6 separate regions of the Homo sapiens genome follow, and regions 1, 2, 3, 5 and 6 are each linked to region 4. Evidence: promoter capture Hi-C in 16 types of primary human blood cells and fetal thymus (Javierre and others, 2016). All regions are on one chromosome and are shown on one strand. The core of a region is centred on a gene start or on the middle of the fragment in contact, and the rest is flanking DNA. Distances in the headings are between cores, read along the strand shown. Region 1 holds the start of ATOX1 (antioxidant 1 copper chaperone). Region 2 has its middle 32 kb from the start of SPARC. Region 3 has its middle 30 kb from the start of FAT2. Region 4 holds the start of SLC36A2 (solute carrier family 36 member 2). Region 5 overlaps LOC105378231 (a long non-coding RNA gene). Region 6 has its middle 14 kb from the start of ATOX1-AS1.

Evidence for each region. The method cuts DNA at HindIII sites, captures the fragments that hold promoters and counts their contacts. A CHiCAGO score of 5 or more calls a contact.
Region 1: a fragment that was not itself captured here is called in contact with the fragment with the promoter of SLC36A2 in region 4 in 1 of 17 cell types (M2 macrophages); the score reaches 5.3 in M2 macrophages.
Region 2: a contact is called between a fragment that was not itself captured here and the fragment with the promoter of SLC36A2 in region 4, in 1 of 17 cell types (M2 macrophages). The highest score is 5.1, in M2 macrophages.
Region 3: a contact is called between a fragment that was not itself captured here and the fragment with the promoter of SLC36A2 in region 4, in 3 of 17 cell types (M1 macrophages, M0 macrophages and M2 macrophages). The highest score is 8.3, in M1 macrophages.
Region 5: a fragment that was not itself captured here is called in contact with the fragment with the promoter of SLC36A2 in region 4 in 3 of 17 cell types (M1 macrophages, M0 macrophages and M2 macrophages); the score reaches 8.2 in M1 macrophages.
Region 6: a fragment that was not itself captured here is called in contact with the fragment with the promoter of SLC36A2 in region 4 in 1 of 17 cell types (M2 macrophages); the score reaches 8.2 in M2 macrophages.

Annotation. Positions count from the first base shown.
Region 1 is chr5:151,755,265-151,758,744 of GRCh38, reverse strand. ATOX1 (antioxidant 1 copper chaperone) reads left to right here and starts at 114. Exons shown (of 4, transcript NM_004045.4): 1 at 114-199. The coding sequence starts at 194. ATOX1-AS1 (ATOX1 antisense RNA 1) reads right to left here. Exons shown (of 4, transcript XR_007059008.1): 3 at 1,674-1,807; 4 at 385-456. RefSeq lists a silencer at 1-175 and an enhancer at 946-1,075. The HindIII fragment of the contact is 3,647 bases long and covers 1-3,480 here.
Region 2 is chr5:151,716,845-151,720,379 of GRCh38, reverse strand. No RefSeq gene overlaps it. Among named protein-coding and RNA genes, the nearest start is that of SPARC, 32 kb to the right of the region's middle. RefSeq lists silencers at 818-1,112, 2,106-2,306. The HindIII fragment of the contact is 1,566 bases long and covers 615-2,180 here.
Region 3 is chr5:151,619,230-151,622,782 of GRCh38, reverse strand. No RefSeq gene overlaps it. Among named protein-coding and RNA genes, the nearest start is that of FAT2, 30 kb to the right of the region's middle. RefSeq lists enhancers at 2,019-2,695, 2,696-3,374. The HindIII fragment of the contact is 597 bases long and covers 1,438-2,034 here.
Region 4 is chr5:151,344,986-151,348,969 of GRCh38, reverse strand. It overlaps SLC36A2 (solute carrier family 36 member 2), which reads left to right and starts at 1,411. Exons shown (of 10, transcript NM_181776.3): 1 at 1,411-1,673. The coding sequence starts at 1,510. It also overlaps a transcript of SLC36A1 not described here. RefSeq lists an enhancer at 985-1,898. The HindIII fragment of the contact is 1,251 bases long and covers 472-1,722 here.
Region 5 is chr5:151,645,628-151,649,194 of GRCh38, reverse strand. All of the region lies in intron 1 of LOC105378231 (a long non-coding RNA gene), which reads right to left. Among named protein-coding and RNA genes, the nearest start is that of CLMAT3, 30 kb to the left of the region's middle. The HindIII fragment of the contact is 1,284 bases long and covers 722-2,005 here.
Region 6 is chr5:151,736,974-151,740,983 of GRCh38, reverse strand. No RefSeq gene overlaps it. Among named protein-coding and RNA genes, the nearest start is that of ATOX1-AS1, 14 kb to the left of the region's middle. RefSeq lists enhancers at 233-282, 1-283 and silencers at 22-316, 82-376, 542-836. The HindIII fragment of the contact is 1,479 bases long and covers 868-2,346 here.

The DNA.
Region 1 (3,480 bases), core at 457-2,956, 410 kb before region 4:
GCGGCGCGGCCGGCAGGGATCAGGACTGGAGGGGGCGGAGCCTCCCTCGCGGCCGGGCCCGGAGTGGGAGGGGCCTCCGGGACCAGGCCTCTAGTGCGCACTCTCGGAAGCGCAGCCGAACCCGCCCTCCGAATCCAGAGAGGCGCTGCTGACACCGCCGCCACACCGCCGCCACACCGCCGCTGCCTCAGTCATGCCGGTGAGTGGTTGCGCCGTCCCCGCCACGCAGACTTGCAGTCCCGGGTTGCTTCTCGGCTGCACAGCCGCTTGACCGGATGCTGATCTTGAAGGGCTCAGGCGGCGGCCGGAGCCGCTGTTGTCCCCTAGCTTACCCCACCCAGCCCCCAGCTTTTGCGACCCTTCAGAAAATGGGATCCGAAGGGAGTTTAATCTGGGAGCCAGGCTTCAAAACGTCGGAGCTGGAAGGCCTCCAGGGGCGACAAGCCCACACCTTCCCTGCGTACACAGAGAAACAGAACCAGAGAGGGGGCAGGGGATGGGGGAGTTGGTGGCCAGCGGGAACTGAGACGCCTAGTCCCTGAGCCTTCCTCCTGGCTGCCCTGCCCGCGGAGCTGGCCTGAAGGAGGGCGGTGGGGAGGCTCTGGACAAGGGAGTGGACCCGGTTATTTCCTCACGGACCGGGCAGGTTTTCAGAGGTTCATGCTTTTCTTAATTTCCCTGCCCACTCTGGCCTACTTTTCAGATCAACTCTGGGCGACACTGAATGGAGACACTTTCTCAGCCTGAACCCATGAGCCCCAGAGAGGTTCAGGAACCCCCCCGCACAGTCACCAGTTGCTCAGTGGCTGTGTCTGGGAAGTCAGTCTTAGCCTGCCTTTGCAGATCACTCAGTCTTATCACATATATTGTTGCTCGTGGCCTCGTTTTTTATATAAAGAATTGAGGCCTTTGGCAGATAAAAATATAAAAAGCCCAGTAACTTATTCCAGGTCGTGTTGAAGTTGGCAGAGCCAGGATTCAGCTCCTTATCCTTAGGCTCCCCATCTCTCCAGGCCTGACCACATGGGAGGTGCCAGGCAAAAGCAGTCACACCGGCTTGGGAAGATGCTCTGATCTCAGTTGCATCTTGGTTAGGGTCATGTGGTGTTTAGCATTTTCTTCAGGGTGCCTAATTCATGGCTCTGGGCCAGGTGGATACCCAGAGGTATCCCACAGTTGCCATGTGTCTTTGCATCCTGTCTTTAGGGAGCTGGCAGGTGAGCCTGAGGCCTCCTGGGCAGAGCCACTGACATCTCAGGTGTCATTTCCTGTGGGTCTTGCCAGGTGCCTTGAGACAAATCCTCCAACAACAAAGTATGGATAAGGAATCTGATAGAATCAGCCCTACCAGTTGGGCAAGTCAGCCTGTGGCAATGGTAGAAGACAGTATTAATTGCCCTGGGGCTTGGGGAGTGAAGGCCACCAGGATTTTTTGTGGGGGGTGGCAATGAGGAAAAGGCTAGCTTGATCATCACTGTATTCTGTATCTTCTGGGGATTTTGACAAAAAACCCTCTGGAGCAGATGATGGGAATGAGGAGGGCACTTGGCACCATGTACCACAAGATAACAGCTGAAGGAAAGAGGGTGTTAGTCAAGGGATTTCCTCAAAACTGGAAAGGGAAGAAAAAAATATATCTATATACACATACTGGAAGGGGAAGAGTGTGTTACCTGAGAGTTTTCTCAGACAAATGCCCGAGAGCACAGGGTTTGGAATCCCAGAAACCTCTGAAAATCTGTGCCCCAGCTTGCCAACTGGGTGACCTCAGGCAAGTTGCTTTATCTCACTGCCTTGATTTCCTCATCTGTAAGATAGGGACAAAAACTTTGACCTCACAGGACTGTTGTTAGTATTAACTGGAAAAATGCCAGTAAAATATGTCACACAGCCACTGATATATCTAGTCCCCAAGAAATGGTAGCTCCTGTGTAGACGTAGGACAGGTGGGCTAGAGCTATAGGCAGGTGAGGCCGGGCATGGTGGCTCACGCCTGTAATCCCAGCACTTTGGGAGGCCCAGGCGGGCAGATCACTTTAATGCAGGAGCTTGAGACCAACTTTGGCAACATGATGAAACCCTGGCTCTACAAAAAATACAAAAAATTAGCCAGACGTGGTGGCCCGTGCCTATAGTCCCAGCTACTTGGGAGGCTGAAGTGGGAGGATTGCTGGAGCCTGGGAGGTTGAGGCTGCAGTGAGCCGTGATCGTGCCACTGCATTCCAGCTTGGGTGACAGAGTGAAAGTGAAACCCTGTCTCAAAAGAAAAAAAAAAAAGGAAGGAAGGAGAGAGAAAGAAAAGAAAGAAAGAAAGAAGAGAAGAGAAGAGAAAACTATAGGCAGGCAGCTTTCAATCCCATTTTAACAAGATCTCAGTGGTTAAGCATTGAGGTTTTAGAGGCTGACTATGTTCAATTCAGGCCCTACTCAGCCGAATCACCGTGAGTGTGTGAACTAACCCCTAAATCTCAGTTTCCTCATCTGTCAAGAAGGGATAATAATAGGCCAGGTGCGGCGGGTAATGCCTGTAATCCCAGCACTTTGGGAGGCTAAGGCAGGCAGATCACAAAGTCAGGACTTTGAGACCAGCCTGGCCAACATGGTGAAACCCCGTCTCTACTAAATATACAAAAAAATTAGCCGGGCATGGTGGCGGACGCCTGTAGTCCCAGCTACTCGGGAGTCTGAGGCAGGAGAATCGCTTGAACCCAGGAGGCGGAGGTTGCAGTGAGCTGAGATCGTGCCACTGCACTGCAGCCTGGGTGACACTGTGAGACTCAGTCTCAAAAAAAAAAAAAAAAAAAAAGAATCATCCCACTTACTGACTTTAAAAACCTACTTTAAACCTACTGGCTTTTAAAATCTACCCATTTTATAAGTCTTTATAAAAGACCCCAGAGGCCATGAGGAACCAGAACTACCCAGTTATGCATCTGGTGGTAGAGCCAATCTTGAGATTCTCCTATAAAGAAGTGATTACTCTGTCCATGAAATAGATTTTCCATCACCCTCAAATTTATTTTTGCCCCTCAGAGGTGGAGGAGGAGAGCACTGAACTGTAATGTTTATACCCAGAAGCTGGTTTCTGGCTTCTGACCTTTATACTGTGGGGGATGGGACCTACTCCCTGTAGTCAGCGACAGAAAGTTTCAGGTATCTGTTGACTTTAGGTCCTTGGGCAGCAAAAAACTGTGCTCCCTAAAAATGTGTTTCTAGTTTCAGAGCTTCTGCTGAGAGTCAGGGTTATGAGGGCTGGCGGTGTACTTTGCTTTTCCAGAACCAGCAAGATTTCCCTGGAGCGAAGAAAGCCTAGGTTCATATTCCATACTCAGTAGTTATTTGCCACATGACTGCAAGCTACCTAGTGAACTCTTGGGAACTTCACTTTCCTCCTGAGTGAAATAAGATAAATAGCTCTCTTTCCAGGCTCAGTGAGGACTAACTTAGATACTGTACAAAGATAATTTGACATGTAATAGA
Region 2 (3,535 bases), core at 148-2,647, 370 kb before region 4:
GGTAAATTCTTTCTACCACCTGCGTAGCACTGGCCCAAATAGTCACTACCTGAGACACAACTTCCCTGAAAAGCAGTGCCATCTCTGGGAGCTGCCCAAGCAACCTTCAAGTCTCTCTTTGCTGCAGCTTTCTAGGTTGTGCACAGTGGCACTACAGCAGCAAGGCCTTCCTGCCTGCTATCACTTACTTTTCCCTAGGCAAAGGGGCTGGGGGAAACATCCATTGGGTCTCCTGGACAACAGGAAAGTCTCAGGATAAGAGGCACTTTGGAGAATCACTGGAGCAACTCTAGCAGTTCAGCTAGTTGGCTCTTCAGGATTCTCCTTGTCCTCCAGCACAGAAGGCTTTTAATCCAGACAGAGGTGGAGGGAGGGTGGGATGAGCTAACGGGCCTGAGAGGAGACTTTGTATCTTAGAAGACATTCCAGAAGGACCTAGAGACAGAGGGTGTTGTTTTTGTCCTTATTCCGACAACTCTTCTGAGAGGATAGTTGGGGCTGGAGGATGCTGTGCAGCCTGTTTAGAGGGCAGGGAAGTTGAAACAGTGTGAGGGAACCAGTAGAGCTGACCTCCTGCCTCTGTAAAGAACATGACCCTGGGAAATCCCAAAGCTTCACATGGCCCAGTCTGTGAAGAGCCACATTGAAGAAAACAAAGTGTTACAGTTACAAATCATTTAAAAGTGCTACAATCTTCATTTTTATATCTCTAAGAGTATTAAAAGGGATCTAATTAATAATTCATAGAAAACTCCATTTCAGGCTGGGTGTAGTGGTTCACGCCTATAATCCCAGCACTTTGGGAGGCCAAGGCAGGAGGATTGCTTGAGCCCAGGAGTTAGAGACCAGCCTGGGCAACAGGCTCTATTAAAAAAATTTAAAAATTAACTGGCATGGTGGTGCACACCTATAGTCCCAGCCACTAGGGGGTGCTGAGGTAGAAGAATCACTTGACCCTGGGAGGTTGAGGCTGCAGTGAGCCATGTTCGTGCCACTGCACTTCAGCCTGGGCAACAGAACGAGACCCCTGTCTCAAAAACAAAACAAAAAACTCCATTTTGACCAGACACTGGTTCATGCCCGTAATCTCAGCACTTTGGGAGGCCAAGACAGGAGGATGGCTTGTGACCAGGAGTTCAAAACCAGCCCTGGCAAGATAGTGAGACCCTGTCTCTACAAAAAATTTAAAAACTAGCTGAGCGTGGTGACATGTGCCTGTAGGCCCACCTACTTGGGAGGCTGAGGCGGGACGATCACTTAAGCCCAGGAGTTCAAAGTTATAGTGAGCTATGGTTGTGCCACTGCATTCCAGCCTGGGTGATAGAGCAAGACTCTGTCTCAAAAAAACAAAAAAACTGAGATCTTACTGATTCCAGAATTTTCTCATGCTCACATTGATGCTTAGTCTTTCCCCCACTCACCTCCCTGGCCCTCTCCAGGAAAGAGAAAAAGTCTTGAAGAGGCCCAGCCCCTTGAAGAATGTAGTTCTTCACATGCCTCAAAAGAGTAAGGGCCAACTACAGTTTGCTAAAAGTTGGAGGAGCTTCCCCTACATAGTTTGGCCACAGAGTCATCCAAATTATTTTTGTGACCCAGACAGCAGCCCCAGACACTGCATCAGCTCGGTTCTGAAGCCAGAAGAAACTTTCTGCTCTCCGTAAGGCTCCTCTTCACCCCATTACATTCCTTTTCTCTCTCCACCTCCTGCTTTAATGTTCCCCTGCAGCCACACGTAAGGAATATCATCTTCTTTCTCTTAAAGGGACAATTATCGTTCACCTTGTCTCATAGATGTGAGACATTTACCTGTTGAGTAAACAGGATGTCTCCTCCGAGTCAGAAATGGATTTCTTCTGTTGAAAGGGATAGAAAACCCAACCCAAACCAGTATAAGCAAAAAGGCTTATGGAAAGAAAAAGTCCAGGAGCAGGGCTGTATATTACATAGGATTGCACTCTGCTGTGTGTCACAGAAACCTGATTCCAGCAGCTTTTATACCACTTTGCAAGCAATCTGGCCATCTGAGGATGACGCTGGGTCCATGCCATCATCAGGCTGCAGTTCCTTCTGTCAGCCTTTCCTTGTGGATTCCATTCTCCTGTGGCTCCACTTTGTCTTACATATGCCATCCAAGAAGGAAGAAGAGGGACAAAAAGCAAAGTCTCCCTCTTTCACAAGCTTCCCCAGAAGCTCCATGCACTGATTTCTGCTTACAAGTTCATTGGTGAGAAGCATGTCCCATGGCCTCTCTGCACTGCAAAGGAGTCTAGAAAGATTAGTATTTTGAGATGGACACAGAGCTCCCTAAGCAGAATTGAGGGTCTGTTGATTAGGCAGAAGAGGAGAATGGATGTTGAGCAGACAAATAACAGTGTCTGCCCCAGGCTAGCTTAGGGGCTTGGACCAGTGTCCCATGAGTATCTTTCTGTGTCTCTGTCTCTATCTTTGTCTTTCTCTCTCTCTCTCTCTCTCTCTTAGTCTCTCTTTCTCTGTCTCTCTTTGTCTGTCTGCCCTTTTCTGTCTGGCTCTGTTTCTCTCTGTTTCTCTGTCTCTTTCTCTTTCTCTCTTTCTGTTTCTCTGCTGTCTCTGTTTCTCTCTGTCTGTCTGTCTGTCTCTCCACTCTATTCTCTTTCCTGTTGGCTTCATGTTCATGCAGCCTTCCCCTGTGGTCTCAGGGAGGCTCCTGCTACTTGGGATCTCACATGCATTCCTAGTCAAGCCCAGGAGAAGGCCAGATTCTCTGTTGCAGTCCTATATCCCATCTCATGTCCGTCCCTGAAAGAGTTACTGTGGCCCTGGGGAATGGCATGGCGTAGGCTAGTCACATGCCCTTTTTCTAAGTGGGGCTAAGAGTGTAGGAGAGGGTATTGCCCAAGAGGAAAATCAAGGCACAGTTCCCGAGAAGGGGAAATGGATGCTGGTGGCCCCAAATCAAACTCAATAAATCATAAACAAACATCTACTGCAGAATCTTAGACATCATCCTATTAAGAGATATTTAAATCACTGAAAGTGTATCAGAGCTTCCCTAAACATTTGGTTAAAATAATGTTGGTTTTTTTTTTGTTTTTTGAGACACAGCTTTGCTCTTATTGCCCAGGCTGGAATGCAATGGCACAATCTTGGCCCACTGCAACCTCCACCTCCCGGGTTCCAGAGATTCTCCTGCCTCAGCCTCCCAATTAGCTGGGATTACAGACGCCTGCCACCATGCCCAGCTAATTTTTTTGTATTTTTAGTAGAGATGGGGTTTCATCAGGTTGGCCAGGCTGGTCTTGAACACCCAACCTCAGGTGATCCACCCGCCTCAGCCTCCCGAAGTGCTGGGATTACAAGCGTGAGACACTGTGCCCAGCCTTGTTTTTGTTTTGAGACGGAGTCTCATTCTGTTGCCCAGGCTGGAATGCAGTGGTGCAATCTCAGCTCACTGCAACCTCCACCTCCCGGGTTCAAGCGATTCTCCTGCCTCAGCTTCCCAGGTGGCTGGGACTACAGGCGCGCGCCACCATGCCTGGCTAATTTTTGTATTTTTAGT
Region 3 (3,553 bases), core at 487-2,986, 270 kb before region 4:
GATCTTCACTCTTGGCTTCTTATGGGTGCCCAACTAGTCTCCCAGGTCCCATGCTGTCTGAGCATCTTACACAAGTGGGCAGAGAAATTCACACCCCTGGTTTAGAGGGAACTAAATCCAAGTTGCGAATGCATGGCCTGGCTTCTGCCTGCCTGGCCACCTCCCCTCACACCTCTCCTCCTTGGATTGCTCTGTTACACTCACCTCCTGCCTGCTTTCCCGTAAAGGTCGTGCCTCAGGCCCTTTGCACTAGCTCTTCCCCCCATATCTTCAAACGGATACCTCCTTCTTATCCTGCATGTATCAGCTGATATGAATAAATGAAGGAATTGTATGGCTGTGGGCAAGTCCCAGTCCCTCTTGGAATCTCCATTTTCCCCTCTGACAAGTGAGTAGATGGATTCAATCTCTATGCTCTTTTCACATGGATATTTGATGTCTGAGCATTGTGCTAGTCAATGAATGAGGCCACAAAGATGTTTGGAGACTCTACTATGCACTGAGCTCTGGGTGCTAAGTAGAAAGTAGTAAGGAAATAAAAGAGAAACACGAACCTCAAGGGGCATGGCGGGAGGAGACTGACAGGCAGTAAACATACACACAAAGAAATAAGATGATTTCTGTTATTGATAAGTGCTCTGCACATAAAAGTAAGGGAATATGATGGGCAATGAGTGATGCAGGGGTTTGGTTAGTGTTGTCAAGGAGGACCTCTGCGAGGAAGTGACTTTTGAGCTGAAATCTGAAGGATGGGAAGCTGGGAGCAAACATTCCAAGGAGGAGCAACAATTTCAGAGACCCAGGGAAACAAACAAGTGCGTCATCTTCTTGTAGTGGAAAGAAGGCGTGTGCATAAGGGGCAAAGTGGAGGGGAAGGACGTCCTGTGGGCAGGAGACAGATGGCGAAAGTCTTGTCCAGGGGCCATGGTAGGGAGTGTGCGTTTCCCACTAAGGGCCATGGGAAGTCCATGGAGGGTTTTAGCAGGAGAGTGACTTACTATCTTAGAGCAAATCACTCTGGCTGCTCCTTGGAGAAGAGACTACAAGAACAGTCATCCAGGAAAGAAAAAGTGGTGACTGGGTGTAGGGCGAGGGGCTGAAAGAAGTGGTGAAATTCAGGGCATGTGTCTCGGAGGTAGAGCTGTGAGCACTCTCTGATGGGTGAGATGCACTTGTGAGGGACGGACAGATATGTGGGATGCAGTTGGTACATGTCTAGTAAATTACAAACACGGCCCGGGGATCCTGTGGGGCTCTGGTTTGCCAAAGAGCTCAACTTTGGGATTCAGGCACATCTGAAATAATAGGATGACCTCCGTATTTCTCACCTGTCACTGCCCTTGAGGGGAGGAACCGTGTGTATTTTATTTGTCACATTAAGTGCCTAACACAATCCCAGGCGGAGTGGCACTCAGTCACTAAATTGTCCCTGAAGCTTCATCTCTCTCAGGGATCTCACAGGAAGGATGGGAGGCTGTTTCAAGAAGGCATTCCTGGGTTCACAAGCCACATGCTCTCTGATAGTCCCATCAGTCCCATGAGTAACCAAGCCCAGTAGGTGAGACAGCTTTGCCCCATCACCCACTGCTGTCCCGGGTCACCCAGAGCCCTCTTCCTGGGCCTCTGCCCCCTCACTGGCTGCAGGAGCCCAGGCTCTCAATTTGATGCACTCTGACCACTTTCTCAGGTCAAAAATATGTTCATTGCTTAAAATTCACCAATAGACTGGATCTGTTCCCCCAACCTCCTCCACCACCCCCCACCTCTGCTTCTTTTTCTGTGGGTCACGCTGCGTTCACAAAGACCTTTGGAGACTGGGAGCCTGTTGTACATGAAGGGTGGAGTGTCAGTTGTACGTGGGAGATGTTAGGGGCAAGGGTACATTGCCAGGAGGTGGTGTTTATCCAGACTTCTCTCTGCCAAGGGGCTTCCCACTTTGTCTATGATTAGGACTGGTGCAGGAAAAAAGACACTTCTTGTTCAGAAGGTCCCCTGAGAATTTCCCCAGAGGGAAGGCTGCTGTCCCAGGAAGCTTCTCAGGAAAGGGACTCCAGACTTTGCATTCTTGGCCCCGCCTGACATGCAGGCTTCGCCCTGTTTCGGGGCTGATGAGAAAGCACGGCCCCAGGCACTGGGGCTTCATATTAAATTCTTAATAGCCATGGTGGGTTTGATCCCACACTCCCGAGAGAATTAGTCACTACAGGTTCAAGTGAGGAATTTATGGACAGGCCTCAACAATCTGCTTCTAATTTGGGGATGGAAACTTTGATTTAAGAATCCCAAAAGGCAATATAGTATGCACAGAGGAAGGAGCGCAAGGTGGGGAGGCCTTGATTCCGGTCATTGAACACACTTTATTCATTTCTGTGTCTGGCACTGTCCTAGTCGAGGCCCCTTCCTGTGAGTCGAAAGCTATGTTACCTTGGGCAAGTTCCTCCCCATTTCTAGGCTTCAGCTTCCTGACTGGCAGAAGGATGGAATGCAGCTCCCTTCTGGCTTTTGTTGGGGGTGGAGCGGTGGGGGGCTTTGATGCCATGAGTCTGGGTCTATGAAGGACAAATGGCATCTCCAGCTGTGGCTGCTCCCAGGGAGGGCTCCCCTATGGAAAGTTGGCTTTGGTGGCACAGCAGTTCCTGGAAGCCCGTGCATGCCTGAGATGCATTCATTACCCCCTGTCTGGAAACCCTGCCTGCCCTCCTGCTGCTGGGGAGGCATGGAAGGGGTTAAAGTTGCTGTGCAAGGAAGGAATAGACTCACTCCTTCCCCTCCCTTGTCAGGTCTTCTCCCCCTTTTGTTCTCAGGGATTTGCTCAGCTTGCTGGGGTTAGGTAAGCCTCCACTCTGGGCTGGGAGCCGCCACTCTGCTGTGTGGAGAGAACAGAACTGCAGCAACTTGCCCTGGCTCTTCCCCCAGGCAAGAAATCTGAAGCTACCACAAGGGGTGGGGAAATCTTGGAACCTGAGACAGTGGCCAAGCTGGAGCTAGAAGTGTCTTTAGGTATCACTGAGCCCAACTAACTCCTTTTGCAGGTGGGGAAACTGAGGCCCAGAAAAGAGACATTTGTTGGGTTCGCAGCTAGTTAGGTGGATTCAAATGCAGGTTTTCTCAATTTCTGGGCCTGCTCTCTTCACAGGGTATAAAGCTCTAACACAACAATGGAGGTAAAGTGTGGAACCAGTGGTCTCTTGGGGGTCCCTCAGGCTACTTTGTCACATGGCTCCATGGCTCCTGGACAATACATGAGTTGACCAGTTGTCAGTCATCTCAGGATGTGGTGTCAGGGAAACACCAGGATCCTGGAGGCGTGGGGACTCTTTCTGACTACCTGTGAGCTGAATGACTCTGGACACATCATGTCACCTCTCTGAGACAGTTTTGCCACTGCAAAATGGGGCCAGAATCCCTGCTTTCCCTAATTCATAGGTGTCTGTGTGGAATAATGTACTTTGAAGACTGCAAAGCTCTACATGTGCTCTGCATCCATTTCCCCTCCCTCTGGTTCTGCCCCTGATTTTCAGGAGGGGTTCAGTCTACTTTAGTCTTTAAGCTT
Region 4 (3,984 bases), core at 162-2,661:
AGTGTTTCAGTTGATTCAGGACAAGAAGCTGGCAGGGTGGGGCCAGCATTAAAACAAAGGAGACAGTGCTGTGGTCAAAGCTGCAGGCTTCAGAAAAAACAAACAAACAAAACAAAAAACAAACAACAACAACCAAAAAAAACCTGGCTAGCGGGGAGTTCGGATTTACCGAGTTCCAGCTGTGACCTCCAGCAAGTTATTCTTTTCCTCTCTGAGCCTCAATTTCCACATCTGTAAAAACAAACTAACAAAGCTAACCCACAGAAGTAGCCAGGCTTTGTGGAGCTTGAAGCTTATCCCATGGAGAAGGGGAAAGTAGTGGTAAGGAGGACCTCTTTAAGAAAAAAGCAATACAAAATTGTCCATTCAAAATTGCATACAGGACCTTGGAAAGAGCCCCATGTAAGGGAGGGGCCTGACAAATCTGTCTTGGATGCTACCAGTTAGCAGTGACATTAGCTAAGCAAAGCTTGTGGCATGTAATAAGCCCTTAAGAAATGTTAGTTTTGGGGATGAGATGATGGAGGAGAGAGTGGTATGGCTTGAGTCAAAAGCTGTAATTTTGAGGGAGGAGGAAATTTTGGCCTGTTCATCTGCACTGAAGCAGAGATAATGACAGAGAGTGGGATACTAGAGAAACGCCCAAGACCATCTTTAGCTGCAGAGTTCTATCCTGGATTTCATGTGTGACCTTAGACAAATCTCACCACCTCCTGGCGCCAGTATCTTGCCCAGCAAACTGTGGCTGGGAGTCATACAATCTCAGCCTCTTCCCCGTTTCCAGAAGAACACTCTTTACTCACTCCATGGAGCCTCACAAAAGCTAAGAATTAATTAGAGATGACTGAGTGACTGTCCCTTTTTTGTTCCAATTTAAGAATGGGGTGCTGCAAGAAGGGATGTCTTACAGCAGACTGTGGAGCCAGTGAGACATGGAAACCTCTACCCTGAGATGAATAAAAGGAGAGGGATTTGTAGGTATTTTCTTGGAGACAGAAATAGGTTACTGGTTGAAAACCTTGACAAATTGGGCTAGGTTCCAACTCTGTCACTTTCTAGCTATCTGACCTCGGGCAGATTCCTTTACTTCAAGAAACCTCAGTTTTCTCCTTACTTAATTGATAGGGTTAAATGAGAAAATGTAGATAAAACACTTAGAGGATTGCTTATCCCTTAGTACAGGGCTTAATAGATATTTGTTATTAAAATTATCAGTATAATAGTTATCATTATGATTATTATTAAGTAATACCAATACGAATGGGTGATGCCTTTTCCAAATCCCTCCTTCCTCTCCTCCTCTTCCCAGGAGTCCTCGTCCACTGGCTTCTCCAGGCAGGAAGAGGTGCCCTCCAGGGAGGTGGGCGGGGCCTCGTTCCAGCTTGGCCAGAGCCAGCCCGGGCACACACCACTGTGCTGGGGTGTACATCTACACTAGACACCTTCCTGCTTCCCTCCTTCCAGAGCAGACCTCTTTGTCACCCCGAGCTCCTTGTTTCTTAAGCAGTCATGTCTGTGACAAAAAGTACTGAGGGTCCCCAGGGAGCCGTTGCCATCAAATTGGACCTTATGTCGCCTCCTGAAAGTGCCAAGAAGTTGGAGAACAAGGACTCTACATTCTTGGATGAAAGTCCTTCAGAGTCAGCAGGCTTGAAGAAGACCAAGGGCATAACGTGAGTGCTGTTTTCTGCCATCCCTATTTCTGCTTTCTAGCCTGAAGCTTGCATTGGCAAAAACCCTGAGGTGGGTGTGTCTGACCCTCAACCCACTGTGCAGATGAGAAACCAAGGTTGCAAAAGGTGCAGTCATGGGCTGAGTCAAGCTGAGGCAGAAGTAAAGGCTGTCAGAAAAGCCCTTAGGGACATAGTGATCCAGATCCCAAAAGGCACAGGTGGGGAAACTGAGGCTCAATTACCCTGGACCACATACTGAGTCATTGGCAGGATAAGGGCTAGAATTCAGTGCTGGCCCTAAAGCCACATTTTTGTTCCTGGCCAGCGATGTTAAGATTGGGGATAGAGGTAGAATCCCTAACTACTTGGAGGAGAAGGTGAGTCCTGAGCTTAAAACCACAGTGGCCTCACTGACCACTAAGTATTTCCTCCTCCCTGCCTCCTTCCTGCAGTAAGCCTGGCCTCTACTTCAACTGAGAAGCATAGATGACTCTAAAAAACACACTTTGTGGAAAGTTCTAGTTTTTTCCACTTTCCAGGGAGTGGGGAGTGGGGGTTATTCACAAGGCTTCCAAAACATAAAAAAAGAGGGAAGCCAAGCTACAGGGCTGCAGCTCCCTTCCCCACATCTGACCCCACCACCCAACCAGACTTGCTAGTTTACTTAGGAACAAAAGGTGTGGGGTGTGGTAGTGAAGAGGTTCTGCTGCTTTAAGAAGAAAGTTTTTGCACCACTAGATAGTAGAAAGAGCACTGGACAGAGAATCAGAAGGCCTGAGTTCAAGTGGTTTCTCTGCTCCTTCTCTAAGTTCCAGTTTTCTGACATGCAAAACAGGTGGCAGTGTGAACTAAAGGAGGGTGCATGGAAACAAAATCGGAGGATGTGTTTCTCGGGGGTGCACTGCAGGGAGGGACTGTAAGGGGCAGGCAAAGCCCCTCCCCACAGCCATCCAGCAGGACAATTTAGGGATGGACACAGTGACTGGCCCTGCTGCCTGTGCTGTCGCCCCAGGGCTAGTCCTGGAAGTTGCTAAGTATTAGTGACCCTGAGAGTGTGCTGTCTGTAAGTTGGGGCCAGCCACTGCTAAGTAGAGGCATTTTCTCAGTCAGAGGCCTTGAGGGAACCACCTGTCTCTTGTGTCCTGAACTGATACAAGGTTTGATGGCAATTTCAGCAACTTAAGGATCAAAGGAATAAAGCAAGTGAGAGCTAAAGGGAGACACGTGGCTTGGGGAGAAGCCAAATAACGGGCTGAGTAAGCGTGGCAACGATGGGGTTGGCTCACCCAGACTCGAATTCCCACTTAGCTGCTTACCAGCTAGAGCAAATGCTGGAACTTCTTTGTGTCCAGTTTCTCCTCTGTCAATGATAGTTCTCTCCTCCTGGGAGATTTGAGCATAAATACCCCAGACACAGTGTCTGTAAGTGTTGGCTGCTGTGAATAAGATGACAGTCCAAGGTGACCAAAAAGAAAGGAGTTAGAGTTGGAGCCCATGTCTCCCAACTCCCAGTTTGGTGCTTTGCATGACTTACCGCACTATGTTTTCAAGTTGGTTGAGTGGCCCAAAGTTAAATTCTGATTTCCTAAGTACTTTAGTTAGAAATTTCCAAAGTAACCCGCTGACCCTTTCCTAGTTGCAAAACAAGCCCATTGCTAGCCTGGCGAGTAGGGTGTAGTGCTCGGTCAGCGATGTGGACACCCACAGGGAGAAAGGCATGCAGGGACTCTCCACCCCCTTTCTCCCTCGATTGTTCTCTTTAACCCTTGATGAATCTATGTACAGAGACTCAGGAAGCTAGAGGGTTTACAGCTTCAATATGAAGCTTCCTGAGCCTCTGCCCATAGATTCTTTTAAAATAGCATCTTTTAAAAATAGCATCACTCCTGACATTTACAGAGGGTCAACAAAGTTGAACACGTTGCCCAAGATGACACAGCTAGTTAAGTCGTGGCCTTGAGGTTTAATCCCTGGTTTGTCAAATCCCAGAGACCGGGCTCCTTTCAGAGTACCTCTGTTGTTTTACAAAGAATAAGTCTCCTAACCAGAAGGTTCTCATGGGGAATTTCCAAGGTTTCTAAAGTTGCACGTGTAAACCCCATGCTCGCCTTGACTTAACCTGGTACAGGTACAAAAACGTGTAGAAATAGGTTGTTTTGTAATTCCGCTAATAGAGTGCCTCCCTGGAACATTTTTTCTCCTGATGGTTTAGACTTTGTCCTCCGGGCAAACCTTCGCATTTGTCTTAAAGGAAGGGTCTGAGTTTTTGTTTGGGGGAGGGGAGGTGTGCACTCTCCAGCCTTGATGCCCT
Region 5 (3,567 bases), core at 114-2,613, 300 kb before region 4:
ACTTGGCTTGGCCTCTCGGATGAAAGAGCTTGGGAGAAGGGAGTGTTTACAGAGATCAATAAAGACACCCTGGAGGGGCCAGCACTCCCATTGGGCTTCTCCAAGAAGATTTAGGATTGACATCATTAAAGCCCCTAGGGAAGACTCTTCCCAACCCAAAGTCTCTTAACACTAGATTCTCAGATCCTGAAAGCACATAGGGCTTGGGAAGAACTATAGGGACTGCTCCACCTTGCACAGCTCTGGAGGTCTTCATTTACATTGATTACAAAGTGAATGGTGTGCCAAAGAGGCACAAAGTGGGCCAGGTCCAGGGGCTCACGCCTGTAATCTCGCACTTTGGGAGGCTGAGGTGGGCGGATCACCTGACGTCAGGAGTTTGAGACCAGCCAACATGGGGAAACCCTGTCTCTACTAAAAATACAAAAATTAGCTGGGTGTGGTGGCACACACTTGTAATCCCAGCTACTCGGGAGCCTGAGGGAGGAGAATTGCTTGAACCTGGGGGGCGGAGGTTGCAGTGAGCTGAGATCTCACCACTTCCCACCAGCCTGGGTGAAAGAGAAAAACTCCATCTCAAAAAAAAAAAAAGAGGTACAAAGTGGTGCTGGTGACAATATTACAGCAGCTAGCATGATCATTTAAAAAGGTACAATTAACAAAAACAAAACAAAAACCACCAATGACTTTTTGTTACACTCAAAACAAAATCCCTAAAGCTTTTCATGATTCAACCCTATTTTTCTCTTGAATCTCATATCCTGCAGTAGCTAAGTTCCAGACACATTGACCTTATTTCTGGTCTTCAAATGTACCCAGTGGCCTAGCTGGTTCCTGCCTCAGGGCCTTTGCGCAAGCTGCCTTTAGCTCTTCCCAAAGCTGGCTTCTTCTTGTTAGGAAGTGTTCTCCTAAAACACCACTTTCTCAGGGAGGGAGCCTCTAACCAGTCAGTCTAGAATGGTCAGTCGGTGTCTCCAAGGTTGCTCTGTAAAATGGGAGTGGTAATCCTCATCTTACCTTCCTCCCTGGGCTCTTTGTATTCATTCCCACCTTATAGCTTAAGTTCCATCTGCAAGGAACTTGTGCACCCCCCTTTTCTCTTTTTTTTTTTTTTTTTTGAGACGGAGTTTCATTCATGTTGTGGTCCAGGCTGGAGTGCAGTGGCACCATCTCGGCTCACTGCAACCACTGCCTCCCAGGTTTAAGTCATTCTCCTACCTCAGCTTTTCGAGTAGCTGGGATTACAGGCGCCCCCCGACCACCCCCAGCTAATTTTTGCATTTTTAGTAGAGATGGGATTTCAACATGTTGGCCAAGCTGATCTCAAACTCCTGACCTCAGGTGATCCGCCCACCTTGGCCTCCCAAAGTGCTGGGATTACAGGCCTGAGTCACTGCTCCAGGCCATTGTGCACCTTTTGAATACATTGTTCGTTTCCGTAGCACATTATTTCCAAACCACTTACTTCACTCATGCTTGTATCCACAGAACCTGCACCATGCCGAGCACTTCAGAGATACTCAAAAATATTTGTTGAACACTGAATCAAGTCAGGGCAGTCTGGACACCCTGCAAACTGTGAAGTGCCCTACCTCCATGATAGCCACCACAAATAGCAGAGAAACAGAGTGAGTCAGGAGGAACCTCATGTCTCCTAGCTTCATGGGTAGTTCTTAAAAAATAGAGAACTGCCTCATAAATTGTGAGCCCGGTGGCAATAACTCAATGAAACCCCATCACACAACAAAACTGAGGTTCTCCCAAAAGGGAAGATGACATGGCACATGAGTCATTGAGTTGATTAAGAAGTCAGTTCTCACCCCTGCTAGGCCAGTGCACCCCAGTGTCTGCTGAATAGAAAATGAATAGAGGGCCAGGCACTAAACGCCTATAATCCCAGCACTTTAGGAGTCCAGGGCGGGCAGATTGCTTGAGCCTAGGAGTTTGAGACCAGCCTGGGCAACCTAGTGAGAGCCCATCTCTTAAAAAAAAATATAGCCAAGCTTGGTGGCACACTCCTATTGTCCCAGCTACTCTGGAGGCAGAGGTGGGAGGATTGCTTGAGCCAGGGAGACAGAGGTTGCAGTGAGCTGTGATGGTACCACTGCACTCCAGCCTAAGCGACAGAGGGAAATCCTGACTCAAAAAAAAGAAGGAAGAAAAAAAAGAAAGAAAGAAAGAAAAAGAAAAGAAAATCTTACATACCTTAGGTGACAATGTATAGAAAAACTTAAGATTTACTGTAAGAGCAGAGGAGATAACCTACTTCCATCTGTCCCTCAGAAGCTGCCACATGCCTGTAATTTCCAGCCATTATCCTCTCATGAGTCCTGGGTGTGCTGTCCACAGAGGACCCCTATGAAAAAGAACTTTAGCAACATCTCATGCCTTAGAAGAGGTTGTTTCTCCAATAAGCCATCTGAAAAAGTAAAGAATGGGGTCCTGAAGGGGAAGGGAGTTCCAGGCGATGGTGGTGTTTGTTATATAGGGGGAAGTTTAGGGGTCTGGGCTCGTGGGTAAGAGAGTGGGAAGGAGGTGTGGTATCCATGCCAACCTCTGCCAATCTCATTTTGCCCCAGGCCACCCTCACACTTGAACCACAGAGAACTGTTCAAATGCCAACTAACAAACACAAGCAGCAACAGAGAGCTGTGTGTGCTGGGGATAACCAGTCCCACGGGTTTGGGTGTAGCGGTGGTTTGGGTGTAGCGGGAAGCAATGCTTGGGTTCTGGAACAGATGGCTTTTAGGAAGCTGAGGAGGAGAGAGAGGGCTACCCCCTACCTCCCTGTGCCACCCTGCCCACCACCCCTGCAACCAGGGCTTGTTAGCCACAGGAATACTTGGCATCAGAGGCACCTCCTGGGGGACTAGACTACACAATGTGAGCCACCGTCCTTTCATCTTGCCTGCCTGAAGGGTGGGGTGGGGTGGACCCAGGGGGCTGCCTCTAGTGCTTGGACAGCTGGGATGGGCAGAAAATGAGCAAGTTCAGCAAGGCTCTGATATTCTAGCTAACACACTCAGAGCTGTCCACACCCTGCTCCCTGCGGTCAACAACTGAAAATACCTACAAGAAACCCAATGCAACAAATAATGGCACCAGTAGAATGGGACCAGATAGTCCCTGGTTCTGTTGGAAAGGTTTGTTCCATTCATCCTCTGCTGCTTCAGGGATGGAAATGAAGCCCAAGAACGTTGCCGGAGCTTAGTTTGAAGGGTGCTGAATAGGCCTCCAAAGTGCATGTAATTTTGCCTTCCTCTCTCCTTAGTCAAAGCCTATCTGCTTGTAAAGGCTCAGCTAAAGTCCTTTCCGGTCCACAGCAAATTTCTGCCCTCTGAGCTCCGGTGGCTGTTTTCTTCACCTGCGTGTTACATAGGCCACCCTGTGTCACCATTGATTATGACATGTCTCCCCAACTCATCCTCAAGCTCCTTGAAGTCGGGGGGATCACGGTGCCTTCTTTTATACCCTGGCACAGTGCTGAGCACACAGTAGGAGGCCCTGATCCAAGTCTGGAGCTGGATGGAAACTAAGTCACTGTAATTGTTCACTCCATTCTTGTTA
Region 6 (4,010 bases), core at 358-2,857, 390 kb before region 4:
TATTTCAACTCTAAACTGGTTGCAAGCATAATTTCCATCCCTTTCTATCCCATTATGAAAGTACTAAACAAATCTCAGGGCCATTTCTGCCTTCGTGGCCCCTCCGGGGTGCAGGGACTCCTTCCCAGCCCACCAGGTAAATGTGTTTCTTGACCACCAGATGGCAGTGTCTCCTGGACTTGACCATCCACAGAGACGTTTAAGACAGTTTCTTCTAAAAAAAAGTTTCTCTGGGCTCTGAGAGAACAAACTTGAGGATTTTTTCCATTTTCAGTTGCCCTAGGAGGTCTGGCTGGCCCACTGGGAACGCCCAAGAGTTGAGACACTGGTGTCTCTTAGAGTGAGTGCTTCTCAGAGGGGTTCATTTCCTTTGAGTTCTCTCTATACCACCACCCCCAGCTGAAATCCAAGTTTCTAGCTGAGGCACTTGGCTCTGTTCTTCCAAGGCCACAGAGGCATTAGGGAAGCTCCCACGCCTGCCATCAGCCCAGCTGGCTGTCCACGGAATGAATGAATCACACAGCGGAGCTCAGGCTTCTGCAGGGGTGGGGGTGGGGAGCAGACGTGGCCACGTATTTCTCCGAGGCTTCCCTGTGCACTTGGCCCCAGCCCACCCTTCCAGGCTTTCTCACTCCTCGCTGCAGCCAGCCAGCCCGCTCCTCAGGTGCCTTGCTTTTATTCATGCTGCCTGCCCCCTGTAAGCGGAATGATCTCCTCCACCAGCCTCCCTTGTCTCCATATACAAATTCCTTTCCCTCCCTTGCATACCACAGCCTCCATGAAACCTCTCCACAGCTGGAAGTAATTTATTTCTCCTCTTGGCCCTCAAAGCATTTATCACACAAATTTCAGTGTTGTGGCAAAGCTTTCTGTCCACGTATCTTTCCTGGCCTCGAGGATCAGCCCAAGTATCTGTTCCCTCTGCACACAGAGCAAGGACTTAGGGGATATTTGATAGATGAGTAATGGCTACTATTTGGGGGATGCCTATTTAGTGTGTCATGCCCTTGCATTTATCTCATTCCATCCTTACCTAGACTGCATAAGATAGTGAGCTAGGACAGACCCTCACACATGGTAGATGCTCAGTAGGTGTTGGTCCAGATAATTTGACAAAGGAAGAGATTGTCTCTTCTAATCTTTCTAGCAGGTTTATATTTTTGTCAAAGATTCCTGGTTGTGAGTACAGCCTACCCTAGGGTGTTCCCAGTAACCAGCCCTTGTTTCTGGGCTTGATGGGGTGAAGCTCCCACCAACTTTGCCTTGTTGACCTACCCATTTGCCTGGTGGCCAGAGCCCGGGCTTGTCCAGTACCCACATTACCATGACTGGAGAGAAACCACCTGGCCCTCAGTACAGGGTGAAGCCTGGGGGCTGTATGTGGGGGAGGCTTCCTTCCTCACAGTGGTGTGAGCCACAGGGGGAGCTCTGGCCTGGCCTGGCTCCCCATCAGCGTGCTGAGTGAGCTTGAGCAAATCTTTTGAATTTTGAAGTGGGGTGTGTGTGTGTGTGTGTGTGTGTGTGTGTGTGTTATTGTTGTTGTTTTTCTTTTTCTGAGACAGGGTCTCTGTTACTCAGGCTGGAATGCAGTGGCACAATCTCCATTCACTGCAATCTCCGCCTCCCGGGCTCAAGCAATCCTCCCACCTTAGCCTCCCAAGTAGCTGGGACCACAGGCACACACCACCATGCCCAACTAATTTATATATATATATATATTTAGAGACGAGGTTTCACCATGTTGCCCAGGCTGGTCTCAAACTCATGTGATCAAGCGATCTGCCCACCTCAGCCTCCCAAAGTATTGGGATTACAGGCATGAGCCACCACACCCAGCTGAAGTTTTTTTTTAACTGCTTTTTTGAGGTGTAATTTCATTCAATAAACTGCACATATTTAAAGTGTAAACTTTTTTTTTGCTATCTCCTACCTAAAGAATAAAGTGTATAATTAAGATACATACATATCTAACACACACACACACACACACACACACTCATGAAACCATCACCACAATCAAGATAGTGACCATATTAATCACCTAAAAAGTTTCCTGGCACCTCTTGGTAATCCCTCCCACCCTCTCCTTGCCCCCAAGTAAGCACTGATCTGCTTACTGTCACTATTGATTAGTTTGCATTTTCTAGAGTTTTATATAGATGCAATCACACGGTATGCTCCATTTTTGTCTAGCTTTTTCATTCAGCATAATTATTTTGAAATGTTATCTTTTTATCACTGAGTAGTAAGTATTCCGTTGAATGAATATACCAGAAGGTGTGATTCATTCCTCTGTTGAAGGACATTTGTTTCCAGTTTTTTTAACTGCTCTGGTGCTATCAAGCTTTCCAAGGGCCCTACAGGGCACAAGGGGAAGTCTCAATGAGCTGGCCTCTTCGAAACCAACACACCCAAACCCAAACCGAGGCAGCTTAACTCATCATTTTATTTGTATCTTTTAATTTGTTTTTATTTTTTAGAGATGGGGCCTTGCTCTTTGGCCCAGGCTGGAATGCAGTGGTGCAATTACGGCTCACTGCAGCCTTGAACTCCTGGGTTCAAGTGATCATCCCTCCTTGGCCTCCCGAAGTGCTGGGATTACAGACGTGAGCCACTGTGCCTGGCCCAACTCACAGTTTTATCTACTGGGCTTCCTCCTACAGCCCCAGTGGTACTAAGCCACGTTCTGGACTTCAGCAGATCCGGATTTAAATTCCTTCACCACTTAAAAACTGTGTGACCTTGGGAAAGTTCCTGATTCTTTTGTGCAACTCAGTTTCCTTATCTGGAAAATGGAGGTCATAACAGTACTCTGACCATGGTGAGAATTAAAGATCTTCATGTGCCTCATTCTTGATAATGACATTCCACAAATAAAACTTTCTGTTTGGCCAAAAAGTCACAATTATACGACTTGAAGTTTGAAAACTGAAGTCTGAAAAATTTCAGATCTAGATTCTTTCAACCCTGGCAGATTAAGAAAAGTAAAATGGAACCTCAAGATTGTGCCATGTGGGAGGTGAATGGTTGTTCAGGTCACCGCCCTCTCCATGACTTTCGCCTTTAATTAGTGCCAGTCTCTAAAAGACCCAAGTCTGTAATTTCTTGGGAGTGCCCATCAGAGCTTCTTTTAGATTTCCATGTCTTTAAGGGCTGTGGCCACTTAGTTTAAGAAGACAAGTTTTCTAATCTGCTTCTTCGGAGAAGGAAAGTCTTCATGTCCCTAGGTAAATCTCATGACTGCTGACTAGGGCCTTGCAATAAAATCAAAGCCTCTAAAAATAAGGATGTCACCTCCCATTGGTCTGTTTATCATGGGCTCCAAGGATCTAAATCCCCGGATGCCTAGAAGTAGGCTGTATGTTGCATAAGAATGCTGGCTCTGCAGATAAACAGACTGTTTACCAGATGTGTGAGCTTGAGCAAATAGCTTAACTGTCCAGGACAAATTAGCTGGGCATGGTGGTAGGTGCCTATAGTCTCAGCTGCTAGGGAGGCTGAGGCAGGAGGAATACTTGAGCCCAGGAAGTCACGGCTGCAGTGAAGTATGATCACACCACTGCACTCCAGCCTGTGTGACAGAGCAAGACACCATCTCTGAAAAATAAATAAATAGAACTGTCCAGGACCTCGGTTTTCACACCTGTAAGGTGAGAGTAATACCTTCTTAGGGTGAAGTGAGATGACGCGTGCACATAGAAGGAGCTCAGTTTCGCTATTGTTATTATCATTGTTGGATCTTAGGAACAGATGTCCCCATGCCCTCCTTCTGATGGGTGGTCCGTGAGCCTTCCTTCACCTGCACAGCAGCCCTGACCCTGAAAGGGAGCACTGCGAGCTGCTGGCTCTGCTCTGGACAGCTCTGTCAGGGGAAGTTCTGATGTTGAACCCACCCTTATCTATCTCCCTGGCAGTTCTCTGGACGGGGGCTGGGTTTGTCTTGATATGTGGGGCATCAGCCTAGCCCTTCCCTATGGTGGTTCCTCAGAGGCAGGTCTTTCCCTTTGTCC